Regions from separate parts of the Homo sapiens genome. Here region 2 is linked to region 1. The links are contacts of gene promoters, found by promoter capture Hi-C in blood cells and fetal thymus (Javierre and others, 2016). All regions are on one chromosome and are shown on one strand. The core of a region is centred on a gene start or on the middle of the fragment in contact, and the rest is flanking DNA. Distances in the headings are between cores, read along the strand shown.

What was found. The method cuts DNA at HindIII sites, captures the fragments that hold promoters and counts their contacts. A CHiCAGO score of 5 or more calls a contact.
Region 2: a fragment that was not itself captured here is called in contact with the fragment with the promoter of FAM184B in region 1 in 7 of 17 cell types (neutrophils, endothelial precursors, fetal thymus and 4 more); the score reaches 7.4 in neutrophils.

What each region holds. Positions count from the first base shown.
Region 1 is chr4:17,780,356-17,784,938 of GRCh38, reverse strand. FAM184B (family with sequence similarity 184 member B) reads left to right here and starts at 3,318. Exons shown (of 18, transcript NM_015688.2): 1 at 3,318-3,780. The coding sequence starts at 3,640. The HindIII fragment of the contact is 8,098 bases long and covers 2,336-4,583 here.
Region 2 is chr4:17,547,834-17,552,610 of GRCh38, reverse strand. It overlaps the pseudogene NACAP5. Among named protein-coding and RNA genes, the nearest start is that of LAP3, 27 kb to the left of the region's middle. RefSeq lists an enhancer at 2,948-3,067. The HindIII fragment of the contact is 4,535 bases long and covers 1-3,892 here.

The DNA.
Region 1 (4,583 bases), core at 2,069-4,568:
ATCTTCTCCAAAATATTAACAATAATTTTCTCTGAGTTTGGAATGTGGGGTTATTTTTGCTTGCTTCTACTCTTTTTTTGTTGTTGTTGTTTGTATTATTATGGGTGAGGATGTTTGGGGGGGATACTATGAGAAGTTTATAATCTAAAGAAAAGGCAAATCAATTATGATTTTAAATTTTTCTGACCAAGCACAGTGGCTCACACCTGTAATCCCAGCACTTTTGGGAGGCCGAGGTGGGAAGATCACTTGAAGCTAGGAGTTCAACACCAGCCTGGACATCATAGTGAGACCTTGTTTCTATTTTAAAAAATAAGAATTTTTAAAAGAAAAATATCATATTGCCAGCATTGTGCTCTGGGAAGCTTATATTTGTAATCTAAAGACAAATCAATTGGAAAGAATATCACCTTTGAGGTCAGATAGACCCAGATCCATTCACTAGCTGTATACAGTTGGGGACTCAACCTGCCTTAGCTTCACTTTCCTAGTCTGTAGAATGAGAATGACAATAAGTACCTCAGAGAAGGTCAAAACATGTGCTACGGGCTTAGCACAGTGCCAATATGACATTAGTGGCCTAATAAATGTACTTCCACCTCCACATTTGATATAGTACTTAATTCTCTTCTGCCCTCAATTTCATTCCTGATGGTGTAAAGGGACCTACTAATCCCAGTGCTGGAAAATCCTAGGAGCTGCAGAGGGCTCTCCAAAACAGGTCGGCTCATGGTGCCTTGATTACAGCAGCTGTGGGCCAACAAAGCTGATAAAGGAATCTGATTTTCCCGTTGTCTTCCATTGTAAAGTTGAAAGTATAATATTTCCTACTGGAACATTTTTTAGCCCCAAGACCTAATGAAATCATTATTAAAAAACTAAAACTTGGGGTTAGACTTGCAGTTTTTCTAAACTTTAGTGTGTATAAGATCATCTAGAGCAATGGCTTTCAATTCTTTTCAGATCCAACATCACCCTTTTTATAACATCCACGTTACTATCTTGAAATTCATAGATAATACACACCTTTTTAAATCTGCATAATTTCTTGACTTTGATTTTTTTGACATTTGATTCTTGATATTTCATTATAATTAAATAATATGTACAGTTGGCCCTCCATATCAATGTGTTCCACATCCTCAAAGTCAACTAACCACAAGTCAAAAACATTTGAGGAAAAAAAATTGATGGTTGCATCTGTACTGTATACATATACAGCCTATTTTTTTATTCCCTAAACAATACAGTGTAACAACTAATTACATAACATTTACGTTGTATTAGGTATTACAAGTAATATAGAGATGATTTAATGCATACGAGAGGATGTGAGTAGGTTATATGCAAACGTTACACCATTTTATGTAAGTGACTTGAACATCCATGGATTTTGGTATCTGAAGGGGTACTGGAACCAATCCCCTGTTGATACTGAGGGACACAGTGTAGTAATCAGATGCTTGCATAGGTAGACTCACCATCAATATGGCAGTTAGAAGTGTGTTGTGGCCAGGCACGGTGGCTCACACCTGTAATTCCAGTACTTTGGGAGGCCTAGGTGGGAGGATCACTCAAGGCCAGGAATTTGAGACCAACTTGGCCAACATGGAGAAACCCCATCTCTACTAAAAATGCAAAAATTAGTCGGGCGTGGTGGTGCATGCCTGTTATCCCAGCTACTCTGGAGGCTGAGGCACAAGAATGGCTTAAACTCAGGAAGTAGAAGTTGCAGTAAGCCGAGATCATGCCACTGCACTCCAGCCTGGGTGACAGAGCAAAACTCTGTCTCAAAAAAATAAAAAAAATAAATAAATAAGTGTGTTGTATTGGCAACCAAATATCATGAGCCACCTGGCCCTTGATGTGATTTTCCAAAATGGTCAACAACTTTTAGTAAAGTTCTTGACCAAAAAGGCTAATTTTCCTCTAGTTTACACAGTGGTTGAATTCCTGTAAAATTTAGTATATATTAAGATCCTGCAGAAAATATTCTAAATACACAATTTGGAATTAAGCAGAGAGCTGTTTAATGTGGATTCCTGACCCCCTGACCCCCATCCTCAGAGGCTTTGTCTCTGTTTTCTAAAGGAACTGGGGGAGGGAGGGGTTGTGCTAAAAAGAGAACTTAAGATGGTAAATTAGAAATCAAAAACCGAGGCCGGTCATTTGATACAGAATCTAGAATAGGAATGTCTATTTCAGAAACAGTTCTACTTGTAATTGCCTGACTTGGTACAAATTTTCTGGGTCAATTTTCCTCATCGACAAAAATGGGTTTTGTTACCTTCAGTATGGATGGGTGGAACTGTGGTTTCTGAGACCCTTTGAAGCTTGCTTGGTTTATGAAGATTATTAAAATTTCTGATAAAAGGCAATGTATAAATGATATACATTCACTATGCAAACTATCATGAAGACCTATTATTCGAGCTTTAGGAAAAGCTGATCACGGTGCTGTCACTTTCCCTTAAAGTCCACTGTCTGAAACCAGAGAACACGCCAGAAAGAAATTTGGCCCGCTAACCTCTCCCCTCACCAAACACTAAACAGACACCAGCTCAGAATCCGAAAACTTGACAGTCTGGCTCCAGTCTGCCCAAGGCCAGTAGTGTGGATTTGGACGACTCACTTTACTTTCAATGGGCTCGGTTTGCTAAGATTTTCAGTTCCATCTTTTACTCATCTAACTGCTCCATTCCTCTTTGCTTCTTCCTTTCCCGCACCTGCCACCATCCTTTCTACCTCCCTAACGACTTTGTCTTTGCGTTCCTACCGCTTCCCGCATTACCCGTTTCGCACTTTCTCATCTCAGATTTCGGTCACCCGCACCCTGCCATCCCCTTGGCTTCTCCTCTTTGGGCATCTCCGGTATTCCTCCCGCAATGTCCTGGCTCCTCTCCAAGATCCAAAAAGGAAGGCTACCATCCCCAGCCCCGCTGTGCACTCGCGCAACTCAGGCGCTGGCCCACACCGTGCGCCCCGGATCCCACACCTCCTTGAGTCCCGATGGCTCGCCCTCACCTACCCGCCCCTCTCTTAGCATCTCGTCCCCCACCGCCATCTCCGCTATCAGCTCGGAGACTCGGGAGCCGCCAGTCACTGTGCCCTGTCCCTCTCCGGAGGCCGCCAGTCACTGTGCCCTGTCCCTCTCCGGAGGCTCTTCTTCCTCTTTAGCCTGGGATCCCCACCTCGGGCAGGGTCCGTCGCCACCAAGTCCAGGGCCGCGCGCCACCCACGTGTCCAAGAGCGCAGTGCCCGCCCACCGCAAACCCCCCAAGGCCGGCAGCTCCTAGCCGCGGAAGCTCTCCCCTTGCACACGAAACCTGCACTGGCTGGGGAACTGCAGACTGATCGCCAGCGGCACGTGCGGGGCGCCGACGCCTCGCCGCAGGGTGCGGGTGCCCGCGGAGCCAGCCAGCCAGAGAACCAGCAGGAGAGGAAAAAGGGTGGGCGCGCGGGTGGGCCCGGGAGGCGGAGACCTTCGGGAAGCTGGGGCCACGCGGCGGTGCAGGCGACGGGACTGCAGTGCCACCTCTCCCGAGAAACCCACACGCTCGCACGCCCGCGCGCGCACGCACGTGCACACGGTGGGCAGGGAGAAAACGAGAGAGTCTGAGTGCTGGGCGCGTTTTAGCGATGGCTTCTGCTCTCAACAGCAAAATTAACCCGCCCGGCACTTGCCAGGGCTCCAAAGCCGACGGTGGCGCCGGCTGGAGAATGGACTGTGATCCCCAGATGCACGTGAAAATGTGCAAGAAGATCGCCCAGCTCACCAAGGTAAGGTGGGGCGCAGCGGGCCAGCGAGCTGCACGCCCGGGGCGCCCGAGCCGGGAGTCAGTGCGGATGCGCCTCCCGGGAGGCCCGGGCCAAATCCAGACAGAAACTTTGTCTCGGAGGCCAACCGGGAAGGGAAGCGGTCCTAAATCTGGGTGACTTGACCTTCTAGAGGCACCATCCTAAAGCAGCAGAGAAAGAGGATCCTTGCCAAGGAAACTCCCACAGCCTGCTGGCTGGGCAGGTGGTCTGTGCTTTTCCAAGGTGGGAATGTGAATCGTGTGTGTGTGTGTGTCCCCGCCAGCTTTGCTCAAGTGCCTAGAATGTTGTGATTTCATTCAACTGCCATACTTTACAGCTGGGGAGGTCATGTGGGCTCTATTTAAACACTTGATCCATTTATTCCTTCATTCAACAAATATTTGCGTCATTTGTTGAGTGCCAGCAGCTTGCGTGGCACCGTACTAAACCTGGAATGCAGCCTAGGGGACTTACTATCAAACTGGGTGCAGACGTGTGTAGGAGCATAAATGGGGAAGAGCACGATTCACCAAATAACTATGGGATTAGGAAGGACCTAGGGAAGTCAGCCAGCCCACCTCCTTACCTCGTGCAGGGGGCTCTGATTGAACCTTCCCAGACTATGTCTTTTTCAAGAAGACCAGCAAAAAGATGCCACCAGTGCTCTTTGTTAACCCTCTGCAGCTCCCCAATTAGAAGCTCCTTGTCACAGACTCCCCTCTGTGCCTTGTCTAGATGGAAAACAACATCCCTCACTGTCTCCTATACAAGGTTTCAAGTGGATG
Region 2 (4,777 bases), core at 376-2,875, 230 kb after region 1:
CACAAGCAGCCCAGCTGGCAGCAGCAGCTGAAATCAATGAGTGTCAATCAGTAAAGCAAAACAGAGTTAGAGTGAAAAGAAGGCACGTAAGGCTATGTCCAAACTCGGTCTTCCGTAGATAACAGGGGTTACTACAGTCACTACTGGAAATCTAAGAATATCTTCTTTGTCATCACAAAACCAGATGTCTACAAGAATCCTGCTTCGGATACCTATGTGTGTGTTTTTGGGGAAGCCAAGATCAAGGATTTATCTTAACAAGCATGGGTAGCACCTGCTAAGACACAGAGTGAGCTGTCTCAAACATTCAAGAAAACACACAGACTCCAACTATACAAGACGAGACTGGAGAGGAAAAGGTTGATGATACAGGTGTGGAAGTTAAGGACGTAGAATTGGTCATGTCACAAGCAAATGTATTGAGAGCAAAGGAAGTCCGAGCCTTGAAGAACAAGAGTAATCATATTGTAACTGCTATTACAGAATTAACAATGTGACCACCTGAAAATGACTGTTTTTGTGTGTTTCAAAAGAATAACTGCAACTTGGTTTGAAATTTGTACCTGTTTCTATCATAAATAAAATTATGGCTTCTTCTTGGAAAAATATTAGAATAAAATAAACATTCAAATTATGCAAAGTCCCACAGTCACTGCACTCCCAGCCCAGGCGATTATTAATGGCCAACCACTTGCCTTTTAAAGAATTTCTTGGCATTCTTCTGCTTCCACAATAAAGGAGACTAATCATCTTTTCTCTTATTTTCACCTCTGTCAGGTCTGGGATCTTCCTTTAATACTACCCTGGGCCAAGAGCAGTGGCTCACACCTGTAATCCCAGCATTTTGGGAAATAGAGGCAGTAGTATCACTTGAGCCCAGGACTTGGAGACCAGCCTGGATAACATAGTGAGACTCCTGTCTCTACAAAAACTACAAAAATTAGCCGAGTGTGGTGGCACAAGCCCATAGTTGAGGCTGCAGTGAGCGGCGGTGGCACCACTGTACTCCAGCCTGGGTGACAGAGTGAGATTCTGTCTCAAAATTAAAAAGAGAATAATCTGGTGTCCCTGAAATGTAAGTGACTGTCCTGAGAAATCCTGATGCCTTTTTTTATTTTTAAACTGCAGAGGTCCTTTGTGAATGAGAACTCTTGTTTTCTTTTCTTTTCTTTCTTTCTCTCTTTTTTTTTTTTTTTTTTTTTTTTTTGAGATGGAGTCTTGCCCTGTCACCATGGTGGAGTGCAGTGGTGTGATCTTGGCTCACTGCAACCTCCAACTCTCTGGTTCAAGCAATTCTCCTGCCTCAGCCTCCCGAGTAGCTGTGATTACAGGCATGTGCCACCACGCCCGGCTAATTTTTGTGTTTTTAGTAGAGACGGGGTTTCACTATGTTGGCCAGGATAGTTTCCATCTCCTGACCTCGTGATCTGCCCACCTTGGCCTCCCAAAGTGCTGGGATTATAGGTGTGAGCCACTGCGCCTGGACTGTTTTCTTGTTTAGCAGTTTGCTCATCTACATATACTTTCAGAGACAAACTGTTCTCAGTATTGAGGATTACAATAAACTCCTTTCTCTAATAAAAGAACACTGACTGAAAAAAAACCCAAACGTATCATTACAGTTATCAATACGTCAAATGTATGCTTGCCACGATTTTTCATATGACAAAGTAATTTTTCTTTTTTGGTAAAATAATTTAATTCTAATTTGGTCTTCACTATTGGGGTTGAATTTAAGTTCTTAACCATTCTGGTCCTTATATTTTCTTTTTTTTTGTTTTTACATCCCCATGAACACCAAGGAAGCTCTGTATATTTTCTGTGGCAACACCTGCAAACTTGTTTACCTCAGCAGTTTGCAAATGCCAACTCTAAACCATCAACTGGGTAACTCCAAACACACACACCACACACACACTCCTCTCTCGCTCGCTCTCTCTCTCTTTCTGGAGTCTAGCTTCCTTCTTTCCTCTCCTCCCTCTCCAAAGAGATTCTGATTTAGTTTTAAAACGCTCACCAGGTAATTCTGACCATCAGCCAGGTTTGGAAACTATTGAGATAATTCCTCACATCTGTGTCGGTCTATCTACCCATCCTGCTTTCCTTATTCCAGAAGAGATTTAAGGTGTTGACTTAATTAAATACAGTAATTTGGGAAACCATTTAAGAAAATAAAATATAAACAGTGGTTTCATCTTTATCTTCTTTCTCATAATTTTGTATTTTTTTAAGTTTTCTGATATATATTATTACAGTGATAATCTTTAAAAAGAATGAAACTTTATAGATATAAAATTGAGTTTGGGCAGGGTGTGGTGGCTCCCGCTTCTAATCCCAGCATTTTGAGAGGCCAAAGAAGGCGGATCACTTTAGCTCAGGAGCTCAAGACCAGCCTGTACAACATGGCAAAACCCCATCTCTACAAAAAATACAAAAATTAGTCAGGTGTGGTGGCGCACGCCTGCAGTCCCAGAGACTCGAGAGGCTAAGGTGGGAGGATTGCTTGAGCCCGGGAAGTGGAGGTTGCAGTGAACTGAGATCGCACCACTGCATTCCACCCTGGGTGAGAAGTGAGACCCTGTCTCACAAAAAAAAAAAAAAAAAAAAAAAAAAAAAAAGGCCAGTCACTTGTTAGAGTTGCTGGGCCTATGTATTATACTATTTTATCCTTGATGAGTTATTAATCAAGTATAGTAATTTGATTTTTACAACCCTGCGCTGACACAGAGGACCAGAGAGAAAACCTTTATGGCTGTGACGTTACAGGTTACTGGTAGGATGTAAGACCTCTAAAATTCTTTTTTTTTTGACAGAGTCTCGCTCTGTCGCCCAGGCTGGAGTGTAGTGGCGAGATCTCGGCGCACTGCAAGCTCCGCCTCCCGGGTTCACGCCATTCTCCTGCCTCAGCCTCCCGAGTAGCTGGGACTACAGGCGCCCGCCATCACGCCCGGCTAATTTTTTGTATTTTTGATACAGACGGGGTTTCACCGTGTTAGCCAGGATGGTCTCGATCTCCTGACCTCGTGATCCGCCCGCCTCGGCCTCCCAAAGTGCTGGGATTACAGGCGTGAGCCACTGCGCCCAGTCAAGACCTCTAAAGTTCTAACAGTTTTTGTTTCCTAGGGTCCTGCAACACCCCGCTGAGAAATAACCCTCGTTATACTTAGCAACGTTATCTAAAATATTAAAAGGTATTTCCTTACTCAATTGGAACTTGAAACTGGAAGCATAGTGGAATCACAGAGTGACTCTGAGCTGAAAGAATCATTCAAGATTCCTTGATCCAACCGGCAGCCCCACGCCCGCTGAGACATGATGAGTTTATGGTCAATCGATTGCTTCCCCCTAGTGGCAAACGGTGGTCATACCACTTTCATTTTTAGACATGTTTAACCTTAGAATCATAGTTTAGAAATTATTTTGCACCATGGATTGCTTTGATATGATTATTAAAACATATACGGTGTGATAGTATTATATAGTATCCATGGTAAAACTATTAGCTAATGCATTTAACAATCACAGCAACAATACCTAAGGCAGTCAAAGCTCATTACTTCTCTAGTTTCTTTCTGATTCACTTATGAAACAATTTATCCCTGATTTATAATATTCCTCCTAAGTCTTAAAGAAAATGCACATAGTTGTGTAGTTATAAATAAGCTCTGTTCAGAGCAGACCACATTATAAGCCAGTATGATTAAGATTCCAGAAATGGCAAATTGCCACCAAATAATTATAGCCTTTGGTAACAAACAGAACAAAACAAAAAAGAAAACAATGACACTTTTAACTACCAGATCCAGGATTTGATAAAATGATCATGCCCAGAACGAGCTTTGTCATTTTGTGGCAAATTGTTCTTAAAGCCTCAACTGAACTCAACAAAGCTTTAAAATCATCTTTTGATTTTAAAAGTGGCGTCCCAGAAAAGCTTATATATAATTATATATATATATATATTTTTTTTTTTTTAATGCTGCCTTATTCAGTTTTCAGGAAATTTTTACATGTATGGTATTATTATCATTTGCCCCTTCAACTACTCTCCTTGGTAGACAGGAAAGGTATTAGTATACCTTTTTTTTTTTGAGATGGAGTGCAGTCACACAATCTCGGCTCACTGCAACCTCCGCCTCCTGGGTTCACATGACTCTCCTGCCTCAGCTTCCCCACTAGCTGGGATTATAGGCATGCACCACCACCCCTGGCTAGTTTTTATATTTTTACTGGAGATGGGGTTTCCCCATGTTGACCAGGCTGGCCTCAAACTCCTGCCCTCAAGTGATCCACCCATCTCGGCCTCCCAAAGTGTTGGTATTACAAGCGTGAGCCACCACGCCCCGCCAATATACCTTTTTTACAGTTGAAGAAACTGAGGCTCAGAGATATCACAGAGCAATAGGGTCCCAGAAATGGGACAAAAATCATGGTTGTTTCACTCTTCTTGAAACGCTTCAGACTTTTACATCCAACTGTCTGCTACGCATTTTTACTGGGATGTCTCATCCACAGGCCCTGAGATCCACCTCATCCCTGGATCCCGTTACAGGTAGTGACACTGCCTTCTACTCAGTCGTCAAACAAGAGGTCTGGGAGACCTCCCCGATCCTTTCTTCTCTATCCTCTCTTGCAACTGATGTCTTGCTGATTTTCCTGACCCTCCTCCACTTCGTATTGTACCCTTGTATTAGAGTGCTAGGGCTGCCACAGACTGGGTGGCTTCAACAACAGAAATTTATTTTCTCATAATTTTGGAGCTAGAAGTCCAAGATCA